2 separate regions of the Homo sapiens genome follow, and region 1 is linked to region 2. The links are contacts of gene promoters, found by promoter capture Hi-C in human tissues and cell types (Jung and others, 2019). All regions are on one chromosome and are shown on one strand. The core of a region is centred on a gene start or on the middle of the fragment in contact, and the rest is flanking DNA. Distances in the headings are between cores, read along the strand shown.

The links. The method cuts DNA at HindIII sites, captures the fragments that hold promoters and counts their contacts. A contact is called where the count stands out against the background at its distance.
Region 1: a fragment that was not itself captured here is called in contact with the fragment with the promoter of SLC25A20 in region 2 in 1 of the 25 tissues and cell types used here (dorsolateral prefrontal cortex).

The regions. Positions count from the first base shown.
Region 1 is chr3:48,724,851-48,732,141 of GRCh38, reverse strand. No RefSeq gene overlaps it. Among named protein-coding and RNA genes, the nearest start is that of IP6K2, 11 kb to the right of the region's middle. The HindIII fragment of the contact is 6,623 bases long and covers 1,547-7,291 here.
Region 2 is chr3:48,895,696-48,902,671 of GRCh38, reverse strand. SLC25A20 (solute carrier family 25 member 20) reads left to right here and starts at 3,790. Exons shown (of 9, transcript NM_000387.6): 1 at 3,790-3,982. The coding sequence starts at 3,878. RefSeq lists a silencer at 4,050-4,239 and an enhancer at 4,820-4,869. The HindIII fragment of the contact is 14,411 bases long and covers 1-6,976 here.

The DNA of each region.
Region 1 (7,291 bases), core at 3,609-6,108, 170 kb after region 2:
GCCTCAGCCTCCCAAAGTGCTGGGATTACAGGCGTAAGCTACCACGCCCAGCCTGGTGCAGCTCTTTTTGATTTTTGCTAGTCTGTTGGTAATAAAGCAACTTATATATTATGTCATATATATATGTGTGTCATATATACATATATATATAGAGAGAGAGAGAGAGAAAGATAGTCTTGCTCTGTCACCCAGGCTGGAGTCTAGAGGCATGATCTTGGCTCACTGCAACCTCTGCCTCCCGGGTTCAAGCAATTCTTGTGCCTCAGCCCAGTAGCTGAGATTACAGGCATGTGCCACCACAAAGCTATTTTTTTTTTTTTTTGAGAGGGAGTCTTGCACTGTCACCCAGGCTGGAGTGCAGTGGCGCGATCTCCACTCAATGCAACCTCTGTCCCCTGGATTCAAGCAATTCTCCTGCTGCAGCCTCCCGAGTAGCTGGGATTACAAGTGCCTGCCACCATGCCTGGCTAATTTTTTGTATTTTTAGTAGAGACAGGGTTTCACTATGTTGACCAGGCTGGTCTTGAACTCCTGACCTCATGATCCACCTGCCTTGGCCTCCCAAAGTGCTGGGAATACAGGCGTGAGCCACTGTGCCCAGCCAATTTTTGTAATTTTTACAGTTTTTTTCCCTCTTTTTGTGGAGAATGGTGTCTCGCTATATTGCCCAGGCAAGTCTTGAACCCCAGGGCTCAAGCTATCCTCCCGCCTCTGCCTCCCTAAGAGTTGGGATTACAGGCGTGAGCCACCATGCCAAGCTGTATTTTTTAGTAGAGCCAGGGTTTTGCCATGTTGGCCAGGCTGCACTCACACTCCAGGCCTAGTGATCCACCCGCCTTGGCCTCCCAAAATGCCTGGCAACTGTTATTCTTTTGTTTTTTAAGACAGAGTCTCGCTCTGTCGCCCAGGCTGGAGTGCAGTGGTGTGATCTTGGCTCACTGCAACCTCCTCCTCCCAAGTTCAAGCAATTCTCCTGCCTCAGCCTCCCGAGTAGCTGGGATTAAAGGTGCGCGCCACCACACCCGGCTAATTTTTTTTTTTTTTTGTATTTTTAGTAGAGACAGGATTTCACCGTGTTAGCCAGGATGGTCTTGATCTCCTGACCTCGTGATCTGCCCACCTCGGCGTCCGAAAGTGCTGGGAATACTGGGATTACTGGGATTACAGGCATGAGCCACCAAGCCTGGCCTTTTTTTTTTTTTTTTTGAGACGGAGTTTTGCTCTTGTTGTCCAGGCTGAAGTGCAATGGCATGATCTCGGGTCACTGCAACCGGGTTCAAGCGATTCTCCTGCCTCAGCCTCCTGAGTAGCTGGGACTACAGGCATGCACCACCATACCTGGCTAATTTTGTATTTTTAGTAGAAATGGGGTTTCTCCATGTTGGTCAGGCTGGTTGCGAACTCCCGACCTCAGGTGATCTGGCCGCCTCAGCCTCCCAAAGTGCTGGGGTTACAGGCGTGAGCCCCTGCACCCGGCCCTGTTACTCTTCTCTTTTTTTTTTTTTTTTTTTTTGAGACAGTGTCTCACTCTGTCACCCAGGCTGGAGTGCAGTGGCATGATCTCAGCTCACTGCAACCTCCATCTCCTGGGTGTCAGGCCTCTCAGCCCAAGCCTACAGGTATACATCCAGATGGCCTGAGGCAACCAAAAAGTACAAAAGAAGTGAAACAGCCAGCTCCTGTCTTTCTTTTCTTTTTTTTTTTTTTTTAAATGAGACAGAGTCTTGTTCTGTCGCCCAAGCTGGAGTGCAGTGACGTGATCTTGGCTCACTGCAAGCTCCACCTCCTGGGTTTACGCCATTCTCCTGCCTCAGCCTCCTGAGTAGCTGGGACTACAGGCGCCCGTCACCACACCTGGCAAATTTTTTGCATTTTTAGTAGAGACAGGGTTTCACCATGTTAGCCAGGATGGTCTCGATCTCCTGACCTCGTGATCTGCCCACCTCGGCCTCCCAAAGTGCTGGGATTACAGGTGTGAGCCACCGCACCCAGCCTCCAGCTTCTGTCTTAACTGATTAACCAACCTTATGACATTCCATTATGACTTGTTTCTGCCCTGTCCCAACTGATCGATAGATCGACCTCGTGACATTCTTCTGGACAATGAGACTTATGATCTCCCCACCATGCACTTTGTGATCCCCACCCCTGCCCGCAAGAGAAAAACCCCCTTTAATTGTAACTTTCCACTGCTTACCCCAGTCCTATAAAACTGCCCCATCCCTAACTCCCTTTGCTGACTCCTTTCTCAGACTCAGTCCACTTGCACCCAAGTGAATAAATAGCCTTGTTGCTCACACAAAGCCTTTTGGTGGTCTCTTCACATGGACACGTGTGACATTTTGGTGCCGTGACTCGGATCAGGGTACCTCCCTTGGGAGATCAATCCCCTGTCCTCCTGCTCTTTGCTCCATGAGAAGGATCCACCTACGACCTCCAGTCCTCAAACCAACCAGCCCAAGGAACATCTCACCGATTTTAAATCGGGTAAGCAGACTCTTTTTACCCTCTTCTCCAACCTCTCTCGCTATCCCTCAACTTCTTTCTCCTTTCAATTTCTGCGCTACCCTTCAATCTCTCCCTTCCCTCAATTTCAGTTCATTTCCTTTTCTGGTAGAAACAGAGGAGATGTGTTTTATCTGTGAACCCAAAACTCCGGCACTGGTCAAGGACTCGGGAAGACAGTCTTCCCTTGTTGTCTAGGTGTCTAATCACAGCGGGGATGCCTGCCTGATTATTCACCCACGTTTCAGAGGTGTCTGATCACCACGGGGATGCCTGCCTTGATCCTTCACCTTGGTGGCAAGTACCACCTCCTCTGGGTGGCAAGTACCACCCCCCCACCCCCCGAAGTGTCTCTACCCTCTCTTTTCTCTAGGCTTGCCTCCTTCACTATGGGCAACCTTCCACCCTCCATTCCTCCTTCTTCCCCCTTAGCCTGTGTTCTCAAGAACTTAAAACCTCTTCAACTCTCGCCTGACCTAAAACCTAAGTGTCTTATTTTCTTCTGCAACATGGCTTGGCCCAAATACAAACTTGATAATGGCTCTAAATGGCAAAAAAAAAAAAAAAAAAAAAAAAAAAAAAAAAAAAAAAAACCACGGCACTTTTGATTTCTCCATCCTACAAGATCTAGATAATTTTTGTCAAAAAATGGGCAAATGGTCTGAGGTGCCTTACATCCAGGCATTTTTCACACTTTGTTCCCTCCCTGGTCTCTGCTCCCAATGTGACTCGTCCCAAATCTTTCTTCTTTTTCTCCTGTCTGTTCCTTCAGTCTCCACCCCAAGCTCTTGAGTCCTTTCAATCTTTCTTTTCTACCTACCCATCTGACCTCTCCCCTCCTCCCCAGACTTCTCCTCTTCAGGTCGCTCTCCGCCAGTCTGAATCAGGCTCAAATTCTTCCTCAGCCTCTGCTCCTCCACCCTACAACCCTTCTATCACCTCCCCTCCTGATACCTGGTCTGGCTTACAGTTTCATTCTGTGACTAGCTCTTCCCCACCTGCCCAACAATTTCCTCTTAGAGAGGTGGCTGGAGCTGAAGGCATAGTCAGGGTACATGTGCCTTTTTCTCTATCAGACCTTTCCCAAATCAGCCAGCTTTTAGGCTCTTTCTCATCAGACCTCACTAAATATATACAGGAATTCCGATATCTAACTCTGTCGTACAATTTAACCTGGAGTGACTTAAATGTCATCCTAACTTCTACCCTCTCCCCACATGAACAGGAAAGAGTTTTTTCTCTAGCCCAGTCTCATGCTGACAACTGCTGGTGTCATGAGCCAGACCTCCAAGAAGGCAGTAGAGCAGTTCTCTAAGCGGATCCCCAATGAAACTATCAGGCAGATTCCCCAGGTATAGCTAGGCAAGATTACATGGTTTCCTGCCTAGTTGAAGGGCTTAAAAAGGCAGCATACAAAGCTGTTAATTACGATAAACTTAAAAAAAAAACCTACCCAAGGTAAAGACGAAAACCCAGCCCAGTTCATGGCTCATTTGGCAGCAACCCTGAGACACTTTACAGCCCTAGACCCTGAAGGGTCAGAAGGCCGTCTCATTCTCAATATACATTTTATCACCCAGTCAGCTCCTGACATGAAAAAAAAAAAAAAAAAAAGCTTCAAAAATTGGAATCTGGCCCTCAAACCCCACAACAGGAATTAATCAATCTCACCTTCAAGGTGTACAGTAATAGAGAGCAGGCAGCCAGACGGCAACACATTTCTGAGTTACGATTACTTGCCTCTGCTGTGAGACAAAATCCAGCCGCACCTCCAGCACATAAGAACTTCAAAATGCCTAAACCACAGTGGTCAGGCATTCCTACAGGACCTCCTCCATCAGGATCTTGCTTCAAATGCCAGAAATCTGGCCACTGGGCCAAGGAGTGCCCACAGCCTGGGATTACTCCCAAGCCGTGTCCCATCTGTGCAGGGACCAACTGGAAATCAGACTGCCCATCTTGCCTGGCAGCCACTCCTAGAGTCCCTAAAGCTCTGGGCCAAGGCTCTCTGACTGACTCCTTCCCAGATCTGCTCGGCTTAGCGGCTGAAAACTGATGCTGCCTGATCACTTCAGAAGCCCCCTGGACCATCACGGATGCCGAGCTTCGGGTAACTCTCACAGTGAAGGCTAAGTCCATCCCCTGTTTAATCGATACAAGGGCTACCCACTCCACGTTACCTTCTTCTCAAGGGCCTGTTTCCCTTGCCCCCATAACTGTTGTGGGTATTGATGGCCAAGCTTCAAAACCCCTTAAACTCCCCCACTCTGGTGCCAACGTGGACAACATTCTTTTATGCACTCCTTTTTATTTATTTCCACCTGCCCACTTTCCTTATTATGTCAAGACATTCTAACTAAATTATCTACTTCCCTGACTATTCCTGGGCTAGAGCCACACCTCATTGCTGCCCTTTTCCCCAATTCAAAGCCTCCTTCACATCCTCCCCTTGTGTCTCCTTACCTTAATCCACAAGTATAAGATACCTCTACTCCTACCTTGGTGACCAATCATGCACCCCTTATGATCCCATTAAAACCTAATCACCCTTACCCCACTCAATGCCAATATCCCATCTCACAGCAGGCTTTAAAAAAGTTAAAGCCTGTTATCACTCACCTGCTACAGCATGGGCTTCTAAAGCCTATAAACTCTCCTTACAATTCCCCCATTTTACCTGTCCAAAAACCAGACAAGTCTTACAGGTTAGCTCAGGATCTGCACCTTATCAACAAAATTGTTTTGCCTATCCACGCTGTGGTGCCCAACCCATACATTCTTTTGTCCTCAATACCTTCCTCCACAACGCACTATTCCGTTCTTGATCTTAGAAACACTTTTTCACTATTCCCCTGCACCCCTCGTCCCAGGCCCTCTTTGCTTTTACCTGGACTGACCCTGACACCCATCAGCCTCAGCAACTTACCTGGGCTATACTGCCGCAAGGCTTCAGGGACAGCCCCCATTACTTCAGTCAAGCCCAAATTTCTTCCTCACCCAATTACCTATCTTGGCATAATTTTTCATAAAAACACACATGGTGTTTATGTCTGGTGATTATGTCTGGCTAATCTCCCAAACCCCAACCCCTTCTATAAAACAACAACTTTTTTCCTTTCTGGGCATGGTTGGATACTTTCACCTTTGGATACGTGGTTTTGCCATCCTAACAAAACCATTATATAAACTCACAAAGAAAAACCTAGCTGACCCCATAGATCCTAAATCCTTTCCCCACTCCTGTTTCCATTCCTTAAAGACAGCTCTAGAGACTGCTCCCACACTAGCTCTGCCTGACCCATCCCAACCCTTTTCATTACACACAGCTGAAGTGCAGGGCTGTGCAGTCAAAATTCTTACACAAGGACTGGGACTGCACCCTGTGGGCTTTTTGTCCAAACAAATTGACCTTACTATTTTAAGCTGGCCATCATGCCTCTGTGCGGTGGCTGCCACCACCCTAATAGTTTTACAGGCCCTCAAATTCACAAACTATGGTCAACTCACTCTCTACAGTTCTCATAACTTCCAAAATCTATTTTCTTCCTCACACCTGACGCATATACTTTCTGCTCCCTGGCTCCTTCAGCTATACTCACTCTTTGTTGAGTCTCCCACAATTACCATTGTTCCTGGTCTGGACTTCAATCTGGCCTCCCACATTATTCCGGATACCACTCCGACCCCCATGACTGTATCTCTCTGATCCACCTGACATTCACTCCATTTACCCATATTTCCTTCTTTCCTGTTCCTCACCCTGATCATACTCGGTTTATTGATGGCAGTTCCACCAGGCCTAATTGCCACTCACCAGCAAAGGCAGGCTATGCTATAGTATCTTCCACATCTATCATTGAGGCTACCACTCTGCCCAGCTCCACTACCTCTCAGCAATCTGAACTCATTGCCTTAACTCGGGCCCTCACTCTTGCAAAAGGACTACACGTCAATATTTATACTGACTCTAAATATGCCTTCCATATCCTGCACCACCATTGCTGTTATATGGGCTGAAAGAGGTTTCCTCACTACGCAAGGGTCCTCCATCATTAACGCCTCTTTAATAAAAACTCTTCTCAAGGCTGCTTTACTTCCAAAGAGTCATTCACTGCAAGGGCCATCAAAAGGCATCAGATCCCATCGCTCAAGGCAACAGTTATGCTGATAAGACAGCTAAACAAGCAGCTAGCATTCTAACTTCTGTCCTTCGTGGCCAGTTTTTCTTCCTCTTATCAGTCACTCCCACCTACTCTCCCACTAAAACTTCCACCTGTCAGTCTCTTCCCACACAAGGCAAGTGGTTCTTAGACCAAGAAGAATATCTCCTTCCAGCCTCACAGGCCCATTCTATTCTGTCATCATTTCATAACCTCTTTAATGTAGGTTACAAGCCGCTAGCCCATCTCTTTTGTTTTTGTTTTTGTTTTTGAGACAGAGTCTCGCTCTGTTGGCTAGGCTGGAGTGCAGTGACACGATCTTGGCTCACTGCAAGCTCCGCCTCCCGGGTTCACGCCATTCTCCCGCCTCTGCCTCCCCAGTAGCTGGGAGTACAGGCACCCACCACCACGCTCAGCTAATTTTTTTGTGTTTTTAGTAGAGATGGGGTTTCACCATGTTAGCCAGGACGGTCTCAATCTCCTGACCTTGTGATCTGCCCACCTCGGCCTCCCAAAGTGCTGGGATTACAGGTGTGAGCCACCACGCCCGGCCCTAGCCCGTCTCTTAAAACCTCTTATTTTGTTTCCATTGTGGAAATCTATCCTCAAAAAAGTCACTTCTCAGT
Region 2 (6,976 bases), core at 2,541-5,040:
GGTTGCAGTGAACCAATATCACACCATTGCATTCCAGCCTGGGCCACAGAGCAAGACTCCGCCTCAAAAAAAAAAAGTATATATATATAATGTGTTCTGATTCTTTTTTTCTTTTTGAGACAGAGTCTCACTCTGTCAGCGATCCCTGCTCACTGCAATTTCTGCCTCCTGGGTTCAAGCAATTCTCCTGCCTCAGTCTCCCTTGTAGCCAAGATTACAGGCACCCACGACCACACCAGATAATTTTTTTTGTATTTTTAGTAGAGATGGGGTTTCACCATGTTGGTCAGGCTGGTCTTGAACTCCCGACCTCAAATGATCTGCCTCTCTCGACCTCACAAATTTCTGGGATTATAGGCATGAGCCATGGTGCCTGGCCCTGATGATGATGATGATGATTATTGAGACAGAGTCTTGCTCTGTGGCCAGGCTGGAGTGCAGTGGTGCCATCTCAGCTCACTGCCACCTCCCACTCCCTGGTTCAAGTGATTCTGTTGCCTCAGCCTCCCTAGTATTGGGATTACAGGCACATGCCACCATGCCCAGCTAATTTTTGTATTTTTAGTAGAGATGGGGTTTCATTATGTTGGCCAGGATGGTCTTGATCTCCCGACCTCACGATCCACTCACCTTGGCCTCCCAAAGTGCTGGGATTACAGGTGTGAGCCACTGCGCCTGGCCCCTCATTCGAATGAGAATGCTTGATTGCCTATTTTTTCCTGTGTGAAGGCATTTATGAATCCCTTTCTAAAAATTTGCTCCAATGCATATAGTTGTTTTTTTGTGGTTTTTTTTTTTTTGAGACGGAGTTTTGCTCTGTCACCCAGGGTGGAGTGCAATGGCGTGGTCTCGGCTCACTGCAACTTCTGCCTCCTGGGTTCAAACGATTCTCCTGCCTCAGCCTCCTGAGCAGTTGGGATTATAGGTACATGCCAGCACGCCTAGCTAATTTTTGTATTTTTAGTAGAGAGAGCATTTCACCATGGTGGCCAGGCTGGTCTCGAACTTTGACCTCATGATCCGCCTGCCTGGGCTTCCCAAAATGTTGGGATTACAGGTGTGAGCCACTGTGCCCGGCCCATAATTCTTTTTTTTTCTTTTCTTTTTTTTTTTTTTTTGAGACGGAGTCTCACTCTGTTGCCCAGGCTGGAGTGCAGTGGCGCGATCTCGGCTCCCTACAAGCTCCACCTCCTGGGTTCTTGCCATTCTCCTGCCTCAGCCTCCTGAATAGCTGGGACTACAGGCTACTGCCACCACGCCCGGCTAAGTTTTTGTATTTTTAGTAGAGATGGGGTTTCACCGTGTTAGCCAGGATAGTCTCGATCTCCTGACCTCATGATCCGCCCACCTCGGCCTCCCAAAGTGCTGGGATTACAGGCGTGAACCACTGCGCCCAGCCCCGGCCCCATAATCTTAAATCTTCTTTGACACCCTTTATATCCTTTTTATATCCTTTTTATTTATTTATTTATTTTAATTTATTTTATTTTTTTTTGAGAAAGAGTCTCACTCTGTTGCCAGGCTGGAGTGCAGTGGCGTGATCTTGGCTAACTGCAAAATCCACCTCCCGGGTTCACGCGATTCTCCTGCCTTAGCCTCCTGAGTAGGTGGGACTGCAAGCACTGTGCCATCACACCTGGCTAATTTTTTGTGTTTTTAGTAGAGAAGGGGTTTCACTGTGTTACCCAGGATGGTCTCGATCTCCTGACCTCATGATCTGTATGCCTCGGTCTCCCAAAGTGCTGGGATTACAGGCGTGAACCACTGTGCCTAGCTGCTTTATATCCTATTAATTGACAACTTAAAATTTTTTTTTCTTTAGACTATATCCAGAATCTGGCCACCTCTTTTTTTTTTTTTTTTTTTTTTTTGAGACGGAGTCTTGCTCAGTCACCCAGGCTGGAGTGCAGTGGCACGATCTCAGCTCACTGCAACCTCCGCCTCCCAGGTTCACGCCATTCTCCTGCCTCAGCCTCCCGAGTAGCTGGAACTACAGATGCCCGCCACGATGCCCGCCATGATGCCCGGCTAATTTTTTTGTTTGTATTTTTAGTAGAGACGGGGTTTCACCATGTTAGCCAGGATGGTCTCGATTTCCTGACCTTGAGATCCACCCGCCTCGGCCTCCCAAAGTGCTGGGATTACAGGCGTGAGCCACCACGCCCGGCCGAATCTGACCACTTCTTACTACCTCCTCTGTTATGCCCTGGCGCAAGTCAACATCTCTGGCCATGGCTTTTAGCCTCCTTAAGGCTCCTTGTTTCTTCTTGCCCCCTGGAGTCTATTTTCACCCAGCAATCAAAGGGGGATCCTGATAACGATGTCAGACTATGTCGCTCCCCACTCAGTACCCTGCAATGACTTCTACGTCCTTCAGAGGAGAGACAGTGGCAAGATCTCGGTTCACTGCAAGCTCCGCCTCCTGGGCTCAAGCGATTCTCCTGCCTTAGACTCTCGAGTAGCTGGGATCACAGGCATAGGCGTCTGCCATTACGGCTGGCAAGTTTTTGTATTTTTAGTAGAGACGGGGTTTGACCATGTTGGCCAGGCTGGTCTTGAACTCCTGACCTCAGGTGATCCACCTGCCTTGGCCTTCCAAAGTGCTGGGATTATAGGCATGAGCCACTGCGTCGGGCCTTTAACTTTTTTTTTTTTTTTTTTTTTTTTTTTTTGTAGAGACAGTGTTTCGCTCTTTTTGCCCAGGCTGGAGTGCAATGGCACGATCTGGGCTCACCGCAATCTCTGCCTCCCAAGTTCAAGTGATTCTCCTGCTTCAGCCTCCCAAGTAGCTGGGATTACAGGCATGCGCCACCATGCCCCGCTAATTTTGTATTTTTAGTAGAGACGGGGTTTCTCCATGTTGGTCAGGCTGGTCTCAAACTCCTGACCTCAGTTGATATGCCTGCCTTGGCCTCCCAAAGTGCTGGGATTACAGGTGTGAGCCACTGGGCCCGGCCTAACTTTTTTTTTTTAGAGACAAGAGTCTCGCTATATAAGTCAGGCTGGTCTCAAACTCCTGGGTTTAAGCAATCCTCTCGCCTTGGCCTCCCAAAGAGCTGGGATTACAGACATGAGCCATAACACCAGGCCCAAACCTGTCTTCTAGTGCCTCCAAAACCTCTGTCGCCTCATCAGCTACTACCCTCCCTCTTCCTGTGGTTTCTCAAACATGTCAGGCACAGACCATCTCAAGGCTTTTGCATTTTCTTTTTCTTCTGGGTGGAAGGTTCCTCACCCTTGACCCTGTTATGTGTGAACAGAACTCCCTCTCTCATCTTCTCAGGTCTTGAATCCTGTCACCTTTTCAGTTAAACCCTCCCTTATTCAACGAACTAAAATTGCAAATCACTTGTCCCACACACCCTCTAACTCTCTTCCTGGATTTTTCTCCGTAGTACTTATTACTACTTGATACACTATGCATTTTTTAGTTATTTATCTTTGTTATGGTCTGTAAATTCCAGGAGGACAGGGACCTGTGTGTTGTACTACCAGGGGTGCCTCCAGCACCTAGAAGGACGCCTGGCATATGGCAGGGCGCAATTGATCTCTCTGGAGTGAGTGGATGAATGGGAGCTCAGAGGAAACATGGAAGTCTGGGAAGGCTTCCTGGAGGAATAGGCCCGCTGGCCCACACTCCCAAACCCCGCCCATGCGGCTTTGCGCTCTGCCACGCCCATCGAAGCGGGGCCGAGGCCGGAAGCAGCCCCGGGCGGAAGCCCTACCGTGCCAACTGGGCCCTCCTCCCGACCTGCCCCGGGCTCGTGCCCCGCCCACCCAAAAGTGGGTGAAAGGTCGGCGGCGCCGGCACTGCAGCTGGGGCTGAGAAGCCAGGACGGCCCGAGAACTGACAGACGGAGTGACAGACGGACTGACCATGGCCGACCAGCCAAAACCCATCAGCCCGCTCAAGAACCTGCTGGCCGGCGGCTTTGGCGGCGTGTGCCTGGTGTTCGTCGGTCACCCTCTGGACACGGTCAAGGTGCGGGAGGCTGGGTCGCAGGCTTTGGGGAGGAGGCCCGGGCGGGGCGCGGAAAGCATGGTCCCCCGCGAGGCGCGGACGCTGGGCAGAAGAGGGGCATGTGTGAGCTTCCGTGAGAAGTCTAGGGAATCTCTCTTTCAGGGGTGGGCAGGAAGCTGTACCTTGCGCCCCAAAGAGCCAGGCGGCGGCGCAAAGTGAGCAGCCTCTAACTGCCTGTCAAGAGCTCTGATGTAAAGTTCCCTGTCCCGCAGTCTCTTCTGACCCTGCGCCACTTCTTTAGGGATGGGAAGGAATAAACGTCTCTCCATAGTTTTGGTTTCAGCCAACACTAATATTATCGTTAAGGTTGAAACAGGTCCCCTGTAAAGCCTGCCCCAGGAAGACAACTAAAGACAGAGCGGTACGGTTGTTCTGGAGGTGTCCTTTGATACATTCCCCTGGGGCAAGAGTACCCATCTCTTTCGCACCTTTCCCGGCCCGGGGAGATACTTGACACTCTTCGGCCTGTCACCCAACGGTGGCCTGCTCAGCCTCCTGGGCAGAGGCATCCCTGTGAGAAGCAATGATGACCTCAGTGACCGAGCCCCTTCCACGGAAAGCAAGGTGATCAGCTTTGCACAAGGCCAGCCTCATTCTCACAACTCCCAGATGAGGAAGCTATGGTCAGACTGAGGCTTGGGAGGGAGGACGTTCATCAGGAATTGTTCTCTGGTCTTCCTCATATCATATCTCAACTATTCCCCTTGCAACACCTTCATTAATGCTTTGCTTGGGGACCAAAGTCCATCCCCCATGGCTTAGCACTCGAAGCTGCATCCAGTTTTCTCACTTTTTTTCTAGACGTAGACGTGAAGGAAATTGACAAGTCATTGCCAGGGTGGGCCTGTGGGGAGCAGACATGAGTTTTAAAAGATTGGAAGCCCATGTGAGGGGGTTTGTTAGGATGTTGGGTCAGATTTCTTCCACAGCGAAATAGTTTTGTGGGCACTTCCTCTTGGCCAGCTTGGGCAGCAAGCTCTTTGCTGCCTTTCATCCAAGAGAGGAGCTGCCCTGAAGTAGAGCTCATACTGGGGTCATTCTATAGGAAGACCAGGGTTAAAGTAGCTGGACTGGCTAGGTCATTGTGCAACATGAAATCAAATGTTTATTTAGCTGGTGGTAAATGCCATGTGTTAGTGCTTCCCAGACTGTGGTCATTCCAAGCGGCACTGTCTACTGAGGGACGATTGTCTGGCCTTTCTTCCTGCTCTTGGTCCATATAGGCAGATATCTTATTAGTTCTAGGCCTCTGGGGCCGCCCTTAAAAAAAAAAAAAAAAAAAATATATATATATATATATATATTCACACACACACAAATATTGCTCCTACCTCCATATCACCTTTGTCCTTGATGTCACTCCCAAGAAGGACTGGATGACCTCTGCACTGAAGTGCAAATAACTGAAATGCTCACTGGCATATTTAGCAACCAGAAAGCCTCTTTTTAGCTTAAACCAAAACCACAAATTGCTGACTGCTGTGTTTTTGGCCTTAGTGAGCTGGGTGGGCTCCAATCAAAGCCTGACCTTAAGGTACTTTCAGAGTTCCAAGGTTAAAAAAAAAAAAAAAAAAGGAGAAGAAGAAAAAAAAGAAGTCCAAGATAGTGTAACTGAGCTGTGGGCTGTGTGTCCTGACAAGGCAAAAGCTGCAGCGCTTCAGAGTGGGTCATGAAAAGGCTCTATGGAAGGTGGTGCGTTAGAACAGGCATTCAAGTGCTGGGTGAGTTCAGACTGAAGGAGTAGGGAGACCCAGACAGTCTGATGGGAAGGCAGGAGTGAAGGTGAGTGTGGCTTGCAAGTGGGGATCATATTATAAAATAAGACAACCTAGGCCGGTCACGGTGGGCTCATGCCTGTTAATCCCAGCACTTTGGGAGGCTGAGGCAGGTGGATCACCTGAGGTCAGGAGTTCGAGACCAGCCTGGCCAACATGGTGAAATCCCATCTCTACTAAAAATACAAAAAAAAAAAATTGGCTGCATGTGGTGGCAGGTGCCTGTAATCCCAGCTAATTGGGAGGCTGAGGCAGGAGAATCGCTTGAACCCACAGGGCGGAGGTTGCAGTGAGCTGAGATTGTGCCATTGCACTCCAGCCTGGGTGACAGAGTGAGACTCCTTCCCAAAAACAAAACAAAACAAAACAAAACAAAACAAAACAAAACAAAAACCACCTGCAAAGGACTTTAATGTTCTTGCTGGTTTGGATGGCTGATATCCTGTTGAGACAGGTATGAGGTATGAAGTGTATATAAAATCACAAAAAGGCAGCCTTGGCAACATGGCAAGACCTCATGTCTATAAAAAATACAAAAATTAGCTGGGCATGGTGGTGCACATCTGTAATCCCAGCTACTCAGGCGGCTGAGGCTGGAGGATCGGTTGAACCTAGGAGTTTGAGGCTGCAGTGAGCCTTTGCACTCCATTCTGGGCAACAGAATGAGACACTGTCTCAAAAGAAAAAAAAAATCACAACAAGGTATTAGTCAGAATTTTTTTTTTTTTTTTTTTTGAGACAAGACTCTCCCTCTGTCACCCAGGCTGGAGTACAGTGGCAGGATCTTGGCTCATGGCAACTTCCATCTCCCGAGTTCAAGCAATTCTTTTGCCTCAGCCTCCTGAGTAGCTGGGATTATAGGTGCCCACCACCATGCCTGGCTAATTTTTGTATTTTTAGTAGAGATGGGGTTTCTCCATGTTGGGCAGGCTGGTCTCAAACTCGTGGCCTCAAGTGATCCTCCGGCCTTGGCCTCCTGAAGTGCTGGGATTATAGGTGTGAGCCACTGTACCTGGTCTAGTCAGAAGCTTTGATCCATTTCTCTCTCTCTACTAACTAGGGGAGGTTATGCCTGACTATGGGAGATCTGAAGGACAATATGAGGGATTTTGGATGTAAAGGTATGGTGGCCTCTGGGCATTTCTATTGTGTCCCATAAACCCCTCAGACTTACGTGTCA